Regions from separate parts of the Homo sapiens genome. Here all the other regions are linked to region 1. The links are contacts of gene promoters, found by promoter capture Hi-C in blood cells and fetal thymus (Javierre and others, 2016). All regions are on one chromosome and are shown on one strand. The core of a region is centred on a gene start or on the middle of the fragment in contact, and the rest is flanking DNA. Distances in the headings are between cores, read along the strand shown. Region 1 holds the start of KRTCAP3 (keratinocyte associated protein 3). Region 2 overlaps SLC4A1AP (solute carrier family 4 member 1 adaptor protein). Region 3 overlaps GPN1 (GPN-loop GTPase 1). Region 4 overlaps ZNF512 (zinc finger protein 512).

The links. Contacts are between HindIII fragments. The CHiCAGO score rates a contact against its expected background, and 5 or more counts as called.
Region 2: a fragment that was not itself captured here is called in contact with the fragment with the promoter of KRTCAP3 in region 1 in 2 of 17 cell types (endothelial precursors and erythroblasts); the score reaches 5.2 in endothelial precursors.
Region 3: a contact is called between a fragment that was not itself captured here and the fragment with the promoter of KRTCAP3 in region 1, in 2 of 17 cell types (endothelial precursors and megakaryocytes). The highest score is 11.5, in endothelial precursors.
Region 4: a contact is called between a fragment that was not itself captured here and the fragment with the promoter of KRTCAP3 in region 1, in 1 of 17 cell types (megakaryocytes). The highest score is 5.9, in megakaryocytes.

Annotation. Positions count from the first base shown.
Region 1 is chr2:27,441,036-27,443,809 of GRCh38, reverse strand. It overlaps KRTCAP3 (keratinocyte associated protein 3), which reads right to left and starts at 1,429. Exons shown (of 7, transcript NM_173853.4): 1 at 1,370-1,429; 2 at 1,047-1,231; 3 at 909-968; 4 at 530-736; 5 at 278-412. The coding sequence starts at 1,397. It overlaps NRBP1 (nuclear receptor binding protein 1), which reads right to left. Exons shown (of 18, transcript NM_013392.4): 15 at 2,630-2,683; 16 at 2,480-2,543; 17 at 2,188-2,243; 18 at 1,551-2,102. The coding sequence ends at 1,998. RefSeq lists an enhancer at 752-1,294. The HindIII fragment of the contact is 10,159 bases long and covers 1-2,774 here.
Region 2 is chr2:27,666,512-27,669,285 of GRCh38, reverse strand. It overlaps SLC4A1AP (solute carrier family 4 member 1 adaptor protein), which reads right to left. Exons shown (of 14, transcript NM_018158.3): 3 at 1,896-2,018; 4 at 383-443; 5 at 1-38. Among named protein-coding and RNA genes, the nearest start is that of SLC4A1AP, 4.0 kb to the right of the region's middle. The HindIII fragment of the contact is 2,905 bases long and covers 1-2,774 here.
Region 3 is chr2:27,645,160-27,647,933 of GRCh38, reverse strand. It overlaps GPN1 (GPN-loop GTPase 1), which reads right to left. Exons shown (of 14, transcript NM_007266.4): 13 at 1-98. It also overlaps a transcript of SUPT7L not described here. Among named protein-coding and RNA genes, the nearest start is that of SUPT7L, 17 kb to the left of the region's middle. The HindIII fragment of the contact is 2,121 bases long and covers 352-2,472 here.
Region 4 is chr2:27,596,904-27,599,677 of GRCh38, reverse strand. ZNF512 (zinc finger protein 512) reads right to left here. Exons shown (of 14, transcript NM_032434.4): 3 at 1,424-1,611; 4 at 1-95. Among named protein-coding and RNA genes, the nearest start is that of ZNF512, 15 kb to the right of the region's middle. The HindIII fragment of the contact is 2,753 bases long and covers 9-2,761 here.

The DNA.
Region 1 (2,774 bases), core at 180-2,679:
CCGCCTTCCGGGTTCAAGCGATTCTCCTGCCTCAGCCTTCCAAGTAGCTGGGATTACAGGCGCCCACCACCCCACCTAATTTTTTGTATTTTTAGTAGAGACGAGGTTTCACCATGTTGTCCAAGCTGGTCTCAAACTCCTGACCTCAAGTGATCCGCCTGCCTCAGCCTCCCAAAGTGCTGGGATTACAGGTGTGAGCCTCCGCACCCGGCCGGTCAGCATCTTTTCAACACAGCCAGTCTCTGTGGAATGAACCCTTCCTGTTTGCCTTCCTTACCTGCCCCTGAAGTCCGTCCTTCCTGCAGGGCCCAACTCCACGTAGAGTGAGTGCAGCCACACAGCAGTAACCAGATAGAGCAGCCTCCCCTGCAGACATGAGCAAAGAAGGGATCCAGAGAGCCAAGGCTGTATCCTGAAAAGCAAGAAGGATGGGGAGTAGGAGGGAGTAGGGCAAGTGCAGCAAATAGGGGAAATTAAAAGGGCAGGACCAAGGCTTTGTAGACCACAAGAAGGAAGAGAATGTGCTCACATAGATTCTTGTGGGGTCAAAGGGGCAGTCAGTATGTCCCGGCCCCTCATCCAGTGGTACCAGAGGATCCAGCAGTCCTGGGTGGCAGTCAGCAATAAGGCGGCGGCCACCGTTGGCCACAGTGAGTGACACAGCAAGAAGGAGGCCCAGGGAGCAGGCAACGGACAAGAGCAGGTTCACCAGAGCTAGTGCCAGCAGGACCCAGTGCTGGCAGGGACAGGAGATCAGGGTGAGCAGCCTGGGCCTGGCTAACTCTCCCAGTGACTAGACACCCAGTTTCTCTGAGGCTCCTCCAATCTATTGAAAGACCAAGCTCAGTCAGCCCCCATTTCCCTGACTCAAGCCTACTCGTTAAAAGCTCCAGGGAAGTCCCTCTCACCAGTGGAGGGCGAAGAAGGTTCCTGGACGCCAGGAGGGCCACAAGTCCCACGGAAACGCTCTGTGGAAGACACAAAGCCTTTGGCCTGCTGGGCTCTCCGGGAGCCCGGCCCCCGCCCGGGTCGCCTGCCGCGCTCACCAGCAGCCCCGAGCCGACAGAGATGACATTGGCTACGGTGTACTCCGGCGTGACAGCGCCGCGGGGATTGGCCACGTGCCGCAGGACGGTGCCATGCAGCACGGCCCCCAGCAGCAGGTTCACGTGGCCCACCAAGATCAGCGCGAGGCCCACACGCATCAGCCGCCTGGGCCCCCGGGCGGCGTCTGCAAAGCACGGGGGAGGGCAGGGTTGAGTCGGGCGGGGAGGGGAGAGGCGGCTCGCGGCGGGTTAACCGCGGGCAGTAGGACGGGGCAAGGGTAGCCCCAGGGTAAGGAGACGAGACGCCAGGGCCCGGAAGTTACCGAAAGCGCAGAGACTGCAGCGCCTCATCCCGTCCGCCGCGCCAGCCGCAGGGCCGCTGTACCTGGGCCCGGCCCCGCCCCAACCTGGGCCCCGCCTCCGTCCCGGGTCCCCCTCCCACCTGGGCCCCGCCTCCGCCCCGGGCCCGCTCCCCCTGGCGGGAAAGGCGCGAACACACGACGCTTTTAGCAAAAAGTAGACTTTTATTACAGCAGCAACTGAGGCGAATCGAATGGCCCCCCAGGGCCACCACTGCAGCACCACCTTTCTCTCCCGCCCCGGCCGCCCCAGCGGGATTGTAGAATTCGGCTCCCCTAGTGCCCGTGGGCCTCCTTTCCACACAGGCTGGGCGGGAGCCGGCAGATCAGCGACTAGCCCCCAACTAGAAGGCGGCTGCTGAGAAGGCCCAGGCCCACGTCTGTGCAAAACAAGTAAACAAAGTGCAGAGGGGAGGAAGAGAGGGGAGGGGAAAGGATGATGCTCAGAACCAGGGAGCCCCCCCAGCCCTCCTGAATAATAAAGGAGGGAAGGGGCTTCACAGGGTAATACTGACTGGGGGGAAGGGACAGGAGGGCTGCAGCACGTCCAGGGACAGCCACAGCGCAGATCAGGGCCTGGCCCGAGTGAGCTCTAAGAGGAGACGGTGACAGCGGCTGAGTTGAGGGTACTGTTCCTGGCAAAATTGAACTTGTTCAAGGTCTCTTCTAGCAGAGAAGTCAACCGGCTCTGGTCAGCCTGGGGGAGAAGAGCTCAGTAAGATGGGGGCTGAGAGAAGAGAAGGCATGGGGGCAGCCAGGGCAGATGAAGGCAGAAACCTCACCTCACTAATGAAGCCCAGCTGCACCAGCTCAGCCGCCAACTCGGGGATATTCTCATCTGACAAAGAAACAGGAGGGGGTGAGTACAGTACGGGACTGAGGGACCTGGGGCCCTTCAGACAGCCCCACTAGGGCTAAACTGTCAGTCAGATCCACCCACTGCTTTAGGGTCTAAGATAGTCATTCTATGTGAGTCAATGTGTTACTGCCTTGTCACCTCCCCCACCCCTGAATATGTCCCTAAAAGATAAGGCTCATAGACTCTCCATCCTCTGAGGGAAAGGAGAGACTCACTTGGCATCAGGTCACAGCTCAGGTGCCGGTTCAGTTTGTCCTCCAACTTCAGCAGAAGTGTCAGCTGGAGAATAGGACAGTCAGAAAATGAGACTTTTCTTCCCTACCCTCTGGCTACTAGCCCTGCGCAACCCTAGCCCTGAGCCTTACGTGGTGTTTGACTCCCTCCTCCACCGACTCAATGTTGCACTGCATCAGCACCACCTAGGGAGGGAAGAGAGGGTCACTCTAGAGACCTGTCCATAAAAAACCCAATACCTAGACGTCTTTCGAGCCCATAGGGCATGGCTGCTAG
Region 2 (2,774 bases), core at 149-2,648, 230 kb before region 1:
CCACCAGTTGTTTTCCAGTTGAATCGTCCACAGGTAATCTTCATTGATTTGGTGGGAATTATAGCACAGCATTAAGCTCCAATTCTCAAGAAAACAACTACTATGCTATGATAATAGTCATTTTTTTTTTAGATGGCCTTTCAGTCTTTGAATCCATCTTGTTCTATCTTTCCAATGTTGGATTTAAAATATTTTCTTTCTATTTCTTACCCATCCCACCCCACTCTCCAATAATATAAGGGTTACTAAACGATAAAGGCTCAAATTTAGAAATAGCTTAAACTTAGATGAAAGTTACTCTTTGGGTTGTTATCTATAACCATACATTAAACCTGAAATTGGCCATTTTCCAGAAAAGAACATTAATAAGAAAAGAGCATACCTCACCCTGCAGAGCCAAGTGCTATGTCCCTGTTCATCAAATTCATATTCTAATTCTTCTCCTGTGGGAGAAAGACAGACAAAACAATTTTAATAGAATCCAAAAATTACTAGTTGATACAATGATAAATGAGAACAAACGTTAAATACGAACAAGTTCCTAGCAGTGGCTCACGCCTGTAATCCTAACACTTTGGGAGGCTGAGGCGGGATGACAGCTTGAGTTAAGGAGCGCGAAACCAGTCTGTGCAACATGGCAAAACCCCATCTGTACAAAAAATACAGAAATTAGCCGGGCATGATGGTACGTGACTTTTGTCCCAGCTACTACGGGGGCTAAGGCCGGAGCATAGCTTAAACCCAGGAGGTCAAGGTTGCAGTGAGCCAAGATTGCGCCATTGCACTCCGGCCTGGGCGACAGAGTGAGACCCTGTCTCAAAAAAAGAACAAGTTCTGGCTGGGCGCGGTGGCTCACGCTTGTAATCCCAGCACTTTGGATGGCCGAGATGGGAGGATCACGAGGTCAGGAGATCGAGACCATTCTGGCTAACACAGTGAAACCCCGTCTCTACTAAAAATACAAAAAAAATTAGCCGGGCGTGGTGGCGGGCGCCTGTAGTCCCAGCTACTCGGGAGGCTGACGCAGGAGAATGGCGTGAATCCGGAAGGCGGAGCTTGCAGTGAGGCGAGATCGCACCACTGCACTCCAGCCTGGGCAACAGAGCGAGACTCCGTCTCAAAAAAAAAAAAAGAACAAGTTCCCATACCACACTGAATAATAAATTTCAATGCATTTCACTTCTCATTCCTAGGGATTATTGTCTGATAATAAAATTAGAGTAAGTCTGAGGCAGAGAAAAAAACAAACTCAGATCAAAGTAACCAATTCTCCATACATAGCTCTGTTCACTGTATAGTATGTTTCACTTTTATAAGTTGTAGACTTTAGTGGTTATTTTAACACAGTTGCCTGGTTTTTAGAAGCACAGATATTAAGTGCACAGCTATTTCATATATTATTTATATATACATATAAAATATATACAGATATACATACATATACATAGATATTCTCTCAAAGTATTCCTACCAAAACAATCCTCTATGGAAAAAAAATTTTAAATCATATAATATAAAATCAAAACCTATGTTAGGAATTACAAAAGATCAGGTGAATTCGGAATTAAAAAACTACAGGAAGTTGGCTCAATTTCCCCACCACCAAAGTCCAGGATCTTTTGAGAAGAATGAGATGAGTCAGGAAAAAGTACTTCCTTTTTTTAAGATAAGAAGAAAGACTAACAAGATTTTTATGATTTTTTTCCCCTCTGCCATACTAATGAGGAATAATTTTCAAAATAAACCTAAAGCAACTGACCACAAGAGTAAAAAGTGAACAAGAAGGACAGCAATAAAATTATAGCATATCTTAGTATAAAGCTCAACATGAAGCTCTAGAAAACCACACTGCTCTGGATATGTTTTAGTGGTAGGGTCAGAATCTGTTTACATACCTTCTCGGTCAAAAAAGCCTTGGAGAGCCTTTTTGGGATCCTTTATATAAAAGGCCTCCCTTTCCTGCTGAAACTCTAAGACAATAGGGTTCTCTTCAGCATCATCCTCTACTGCATCTTCTCCTACAGGATATGGAAAAGAAAGAAAAGATAATCAGACATGAGAAGAGACTATTTGAATGATACCCACTATTCTCTCAGGCTGCATAAAGATATAGTTTAGGCTGGGCGCAGTGGCTCATGCCTGTAATCCCAGCACTTTGGGAGGCCAAGGCAGGTGGATCACAAGGTCAGGAGTTCAAGACCAGCTTGGCCAACATGGTGAAACCCCATCTCTACTAAAAATACAAAAAAAATTAGCTGGGCACAGTGGCGGGTGTCTGTAATCCCAGCTACTTGGGAGGCTGAGGCAGGAGAATTGCTTGAACCTGGGAGGAAGAAGTTGTAGTGAGCCAAGATCGCGCTACCTGCACTCCAACCCAAGCAACACAGTGAGACCGTCTCCCAAAAAAAAAAAAATATATATATATATATAGTTTATCTGTGATGAAAAATAATAAATACTTGCAGGGACAGGGGGTGGAACAACCACCACAAAACCACTAGTATGAGCATATTCAGGTTTTCTAAATTGTGTGACAAGTCAAAACTTGTTTTCATGGCACCTTAATTTTTTTTTCTCCATCATTATATTTTAAAAGTAAAATTACCTACCACATTGTGGAAAAAAAATTTGAGCTCCTCAGCCTGGCATTCTTGTTCTCTCACACTCATATCTAACTTTCGTTCCCAATATAATTTCCTAATACTTCTTATATCTGCCAAATAGACTGGTCTACTCACAACTTCCTTAAAATCATCAATTCCTACCCTGAATAC
Region 3 (2,774 bases), core at 163-2,662, 200 kb before region 1:
AATGTCATCAGTATCGCTGTCTGCTTCCTCATCCTCTTCATCCAAGGTTCCTCGAGTCAGGATCAAATCAGAAGGGTGCAGCACAGGAGATAAGCTGTCTACAGTGAAAACACCTATCAGTGATATGCCTCCTCAAAAAGGTGATCTTGAATCACTAAGTAACTATGATCATAAACTGGCAGGATGAAAGTGCTCATGATACATATAAACGCAGGATCTTACCTCTTCTAAATGTATTGTTAATACCACTTAACATTTCTATAATAGCTTAGTTCACAAAGTGCTTTCATAAGGCAAATAGCCCTAGGAGTCCCATTTTTTTAAGCTGAGGGAAATAATTTTCAAGAAGCTTGTCTTACTAGTAGCATCATTCTTTTTTACTGGCTCACAGCTTGGAAGGGGTGATGGTTTTTCCTATGAAAGCTAACAACATTTGAGCAGATCCAGTGTGCTGGTGAGTCACAGTGAAAGTGTGGAGTGCTAAGGAAGCCTCCTGGTGGAAATGTAAGTTCAGAGAAGGTCTGCAGAAAATACAGGGTGAAATGTTATCAAGGAGCCAGGGTATTATTTAAGAAGAGGAGGGAGGGGAAAAATAGAAAATCAAATACACTAATAGAAGTAAAATTCCCTATTCAGAAAAACTAGTGAGGGCTGAGCTCCAGTAATCAGAGAGAAGTCTAATCAAGTCACTACTGCCATGGGAGGACATAGTCACTCTCTCTTCAGGAGCCTATGAGGCTTGCGAGAGCTCAGCTAGGGAATAAGGGTGGCCAGAGACAGCAACATCAACTGGCACAAATCTCAAGGGGCCTGTGGGCCTGAAAAAGGAGGATGACAGGACATGCTGACAGTAAATGCTTCATTCTGTGCCTAACAATTATGCAACTATACTTGTGACTTTCCTCAAATGATTTACTTAAACTCTCCCAACCTTCAACAGGTTAGCTGACTACAGCAGACCCTTTGCAGCAGTAGTTTTAACATTGACTTCACATATTCAGAAGTGATTCTAAAGGACTGTGGCACATAGAAATGTATTTTGCTGAGCTGTACAACAGGATGGCACAAGTGAGTACACTTAACTGGTAAACCCAGTCCGTTACTAGCTTTGCTGTTCTCTACTAGATATAGAGCAATAACTTTCATGAACAGAAGCATCACTCCTTTAAGAAAGATGTCCCAGAAAAAAAAAATGCTAGTGTTGCTGATGAGAAGAAAAAATAAATGTACAATTTATTACAATAAATAAATAAATGGAGCTTTTCTTTTAAGTACAGTCAATTTGGTTGCAGGATTCCACTAAGCTGCAATAGACTTGCATCTGAATCTTGAGGGCAGTCCCTCAATATACAGGGGTGGGGGTGGAAGGTGGGCTGTAAATGAAAACTAACCTAAAAACCCCTGCAGAGCCAATGATAAAACTAAAAAAAAATTTTTAATTCAGTAAAGTAGCAGGATAAAAGATGAATATACAGAAATCAAAAGCCTTCATACATACAAACATAAACCAGTTATAAGATGTAACGGTCCAGAAAATCCCATTTTCAACAGTAATGAAGAAGGTTAAATACTTAGAATAAATTTCAAGCTGGGGCTGGGCATGGTGGCTCATGCCTGTAATCCCAGCACTTTGGGAGGCTGAAATGGGCAGATCACCTGAGGTCAGGAGTTCAAGACCAGCCTGGCCAACATGGCAAAACCCTGTCTCTACTAAAAATGCAAAAATTAGCTGGGCGTGGTGGCATGTGCCTGTAGTCCCAGCTACACAGGAGGCTGAGGCACAACAATCGCTTGAACCCGGGAGGCGGAGGTTGCAGTGAGCCGAGATCGCGCCATTGCACTCCAGCCTAGGTGACAGAGCAAGACTCTGCCTCAAAAATAAATACATACATACATAAATTTCAAGCTGGGTACAGTGGTTCACACCTGTAATCCCAGTACTTTGGGTGGCTGAGGTGGGCAGATCACTTGAGCCCAGGAGTTCGAGACCAGCCTGGGCAACACGGCAAAACCTCATCTCCACTAAAAATACAAAATTTAGCCCGGCATGGTGGCAGGCACCTCTAGTTCCAGCTACTTGGGAGGCTGAGGCAGGAGAATAGCTTGAACCCAGGAGGCAGAGGCTGCAGTGAGCCAAGATCACACCACTGCACTCCAGTTGGGGTGACAGAGCAAGACCCTGTCTCAAAACAAATACATAAAGATGATTTGTTTTAAAAAAAAAAAATTAAAAAGAAACAGGCAAAAACTCTTGGTCAAAAAGGTTGGCTAAAATAACAAAAACATTTTAAAAAGAAATAAGAAAAACCTATATATGGAAAACTGGAAACACTCCTGAAAGACACAAGTAGACCTGACAAATACAAAGACACTCTGTGGTCTTGGGTAGCAAGACTGAACATCATAGAGATGTCACTTCTCCCTAAATTAATTATGAATATAATGTAATCCCAACTAAAATACCAAAAAGCTTTTTTAAGGAACTAGATAAAGTTGATACTCAGTTCATATGGAAGAACATGTAAGGACAGCCAAATAAAAATTAGGAGGAGAATCTGATCTAGCAGATATTGAAACATAATTACATAATTAAAACAACATGGTACAGGCATAAAAGTAAGGAGTCCTTGCTCACCAAAGCAAGTTAAAAGAAAAAAAAAATGGGCTGGGGATGGTGGCTTATGCCTATGATCCCAACACCTTGGGAGGCCAAGACAGGAGGACTGCCTGAGGCCAAGAGTTCAAGACCAGCCTGGGCAACATGGTGAGACCTC
Region 4 (2,774 bases), core at 136-2,635, 160 kb before region 1:
ATAAAGCTTATGCTTCTTCTGAGGAAATTCTCGATAGTCTTCATCTTCTTCCTGCCTGGGTTTCCTTTTCCCCTTGGCTGATACTCCACCTGACCCTGAAGTACCATACAAAAACAAAACAAAAACTCAGCACACTTTGTAAATGAACATCTAGGCCTGTCTTCAAAACATCATTCACAAGACCATCAAAAGGAAAGATCATCAGTGAACACAGGCCTCAGAGAAATGTCTGTGACATTTTTAGAGAAGTTGGTGTAACTTCTCATTAACTGACCCACTCTCCCTTTCTTTTTATATTGTTATCTATTCCAAATCATCCATTGTTCCTTATGAATAATAAGGGCATTCAAGCAATGTGTTTTGCTTAATCTTGACTTGAGGCTAACAAGAGGATAAGAATTGCTCAAGATAGAGGGCTAGCCACCAAGGACCCTTGAGATTGTGACGATCCAGAATATTCTCCCCTGAATAATCCTTACACCAGCCCCTAAATCATCAACAGAGGATCACACTAGAAGAAAAGGGGGGCCAGCCATGGTGACTCACATCTGTAATCCCAGCACTTTGAGATTACAGACTTTGGCCAAAGTGGGCGGATTACCTGAGGTCAGGAGTTCAAGACCAGCCTGACCAACATGGAGAAACCCCGTCTCTGCTAAAAATACAAAATTAGCCAGGTGTGGTGGCACATGCCTGTAATCCCAGCTACTCAGCTGGCATTACAAGCTGAGGCAGGAGAATCGCTTGAACCCAGGAGAAGGAGGGTGCGGTGAGCCTGAGCTCGAGTCATTGCACTCTAGTCTGGGCAAGAAGAGTGAAACTCCGTCTCAAAAAAAAAAGAAGAAGAAAAGGGGAATTCAAATACTACAAAGAGGAAAATCAAATGCTAAATATAATCTAGAGGAGTAAGATTAGCAGAATTTCACTCTATCACATAGCAGTTCATGAAGCTAATGGGACAGGATGCAATTGCCTAACACCTTAAATTTTTTTAAATCACTAATGAGAAACAAATATGTGGCATTTCATACTCTTTTTTTTTTTTTTTTGAGACGGAGTCTCGCTCTTTCGCCCAGGCTACAGTGCAATGGTGCGATCTCTGCTCAGTGCAACCTCTGCCTCCCAGGTTCATGCCATTCTCCTGCCTCAGCCTCCTGAGTAGCTGGGACTACAGGCGCCCACCACCAGGCCCCGCTAATTTTTTGTATTTTTAGTAGAGACGGGGTTTCACCATGTTAGCCAGGATGGTCTCGATCTCCTGACCTTGTGATCCGCCCGCCTCGACCTCCCAAAGTGCTGGGATTACAGGCGTGAGCCACCACGCTCAGCCGCCATTTAATACTTTTAAGAGGTATTTATAACAATCTCAAACTATAACTTTAGGAAGTGGCCCGTCTTCAGAATAAGACACTGATATTGATACCTTCGACATGAGAAGTAGCAGCTGGCTTGATTCTTCTCATCTTCATCCAGTAGGTAGATTTTCGGAAAGATGCTGGAAAATCACTCACTGGTTCACACGAAGATGCAGACGATGAACCACTTAAGGAGTCATCATGAGGGATAGTGTACTGGAAACTATTATCCTTTATGGAGCACTGGGTCCTGCTACTAATACAACATAAAAATATATACCACAAAGGAAGGTCTGGAGCAAAATTTCTATACATTCTTTTACATTATAACCAAGTTGGTTACCTCTGCAGAAAACTAAGAAGCCTGCTATAAAAACAGAATGTAAGTTGTAATCACCTAACAATAACAATAGTTGATCTAACACAACATGTACAATTATTATCACACTTCATTGTAATAAGAGTAAGCAGTACACATAAATGATCACTTTGCAGCCCAAGTAGACATTCCTTCCTAGATTCATCTAATAAAAGAAAGTAGGTGAAGCAATAAAGGTGTTCTATGACCCTTCAGAAGACTCCCTGGATTTGTAACCTGGTATGTCCCAGCCTCTCTCTTTCTCTGACAGAGGGATGGCAACTAAAGGGTATCTCTAAGGGAAAGGAATAGTCTGTGGGCCCTAATCTGACTCATCTTCCTTCTGCCTCAGCATTCTCCCTAAAACCTGATGCCCTATCTTATTTAGGCAACATGATACTTAGCTTCCACAGCTAAAGGATGGATGCTATCTTGCATGAATTAACCTGGCCAGAGATTTCTGGTATACAGCTGAATCCAGATTCCAAAATCTAAGACCAGTCAGTATGACAGCTAAAAAACATTACTCTGTAACTACAAAGCATCAGACATTCTTCTAGGTGGCTCAAGATGCAGCAGAGCAGCAGTTCTCCAAGAGTGGTCAATGGACTCCTAGAACCTCCCTTTTCCAGCTAAATACCTGTGAGGCCTACTTTAGATTTATGGTTCAGAAAGATCCTTCTGGCTGCTCTATGGAGACAGCCCATGGGAGAAAGAGTAAACAAAAGGAAAAAAGTTAACTTGAATTGGCAGATTCAAGGTAACACTTTAGATGTAGAGCTAATAAGAATTACACATAGAGAGGTTTGCTTATGACATCAGGGAGTTGGAAGTAACACAGTGACCATCCTTGCAAAATGTGATAGATGCCTACTATGGAATACTGTGCTGCTGTTAGAAGCAATAAACTAATTCTACACATAGAGACACGACCATAACTAAAAAGTATATTGTTGAATGAAAAAAGAAACAAAACAGTATCTCTAGCACAATGTCAGTTCAGCAAGCTAAAAACAAATCCACACATAAAGCAGCTTATTTTAAAGCTTATTTTTTAAAGG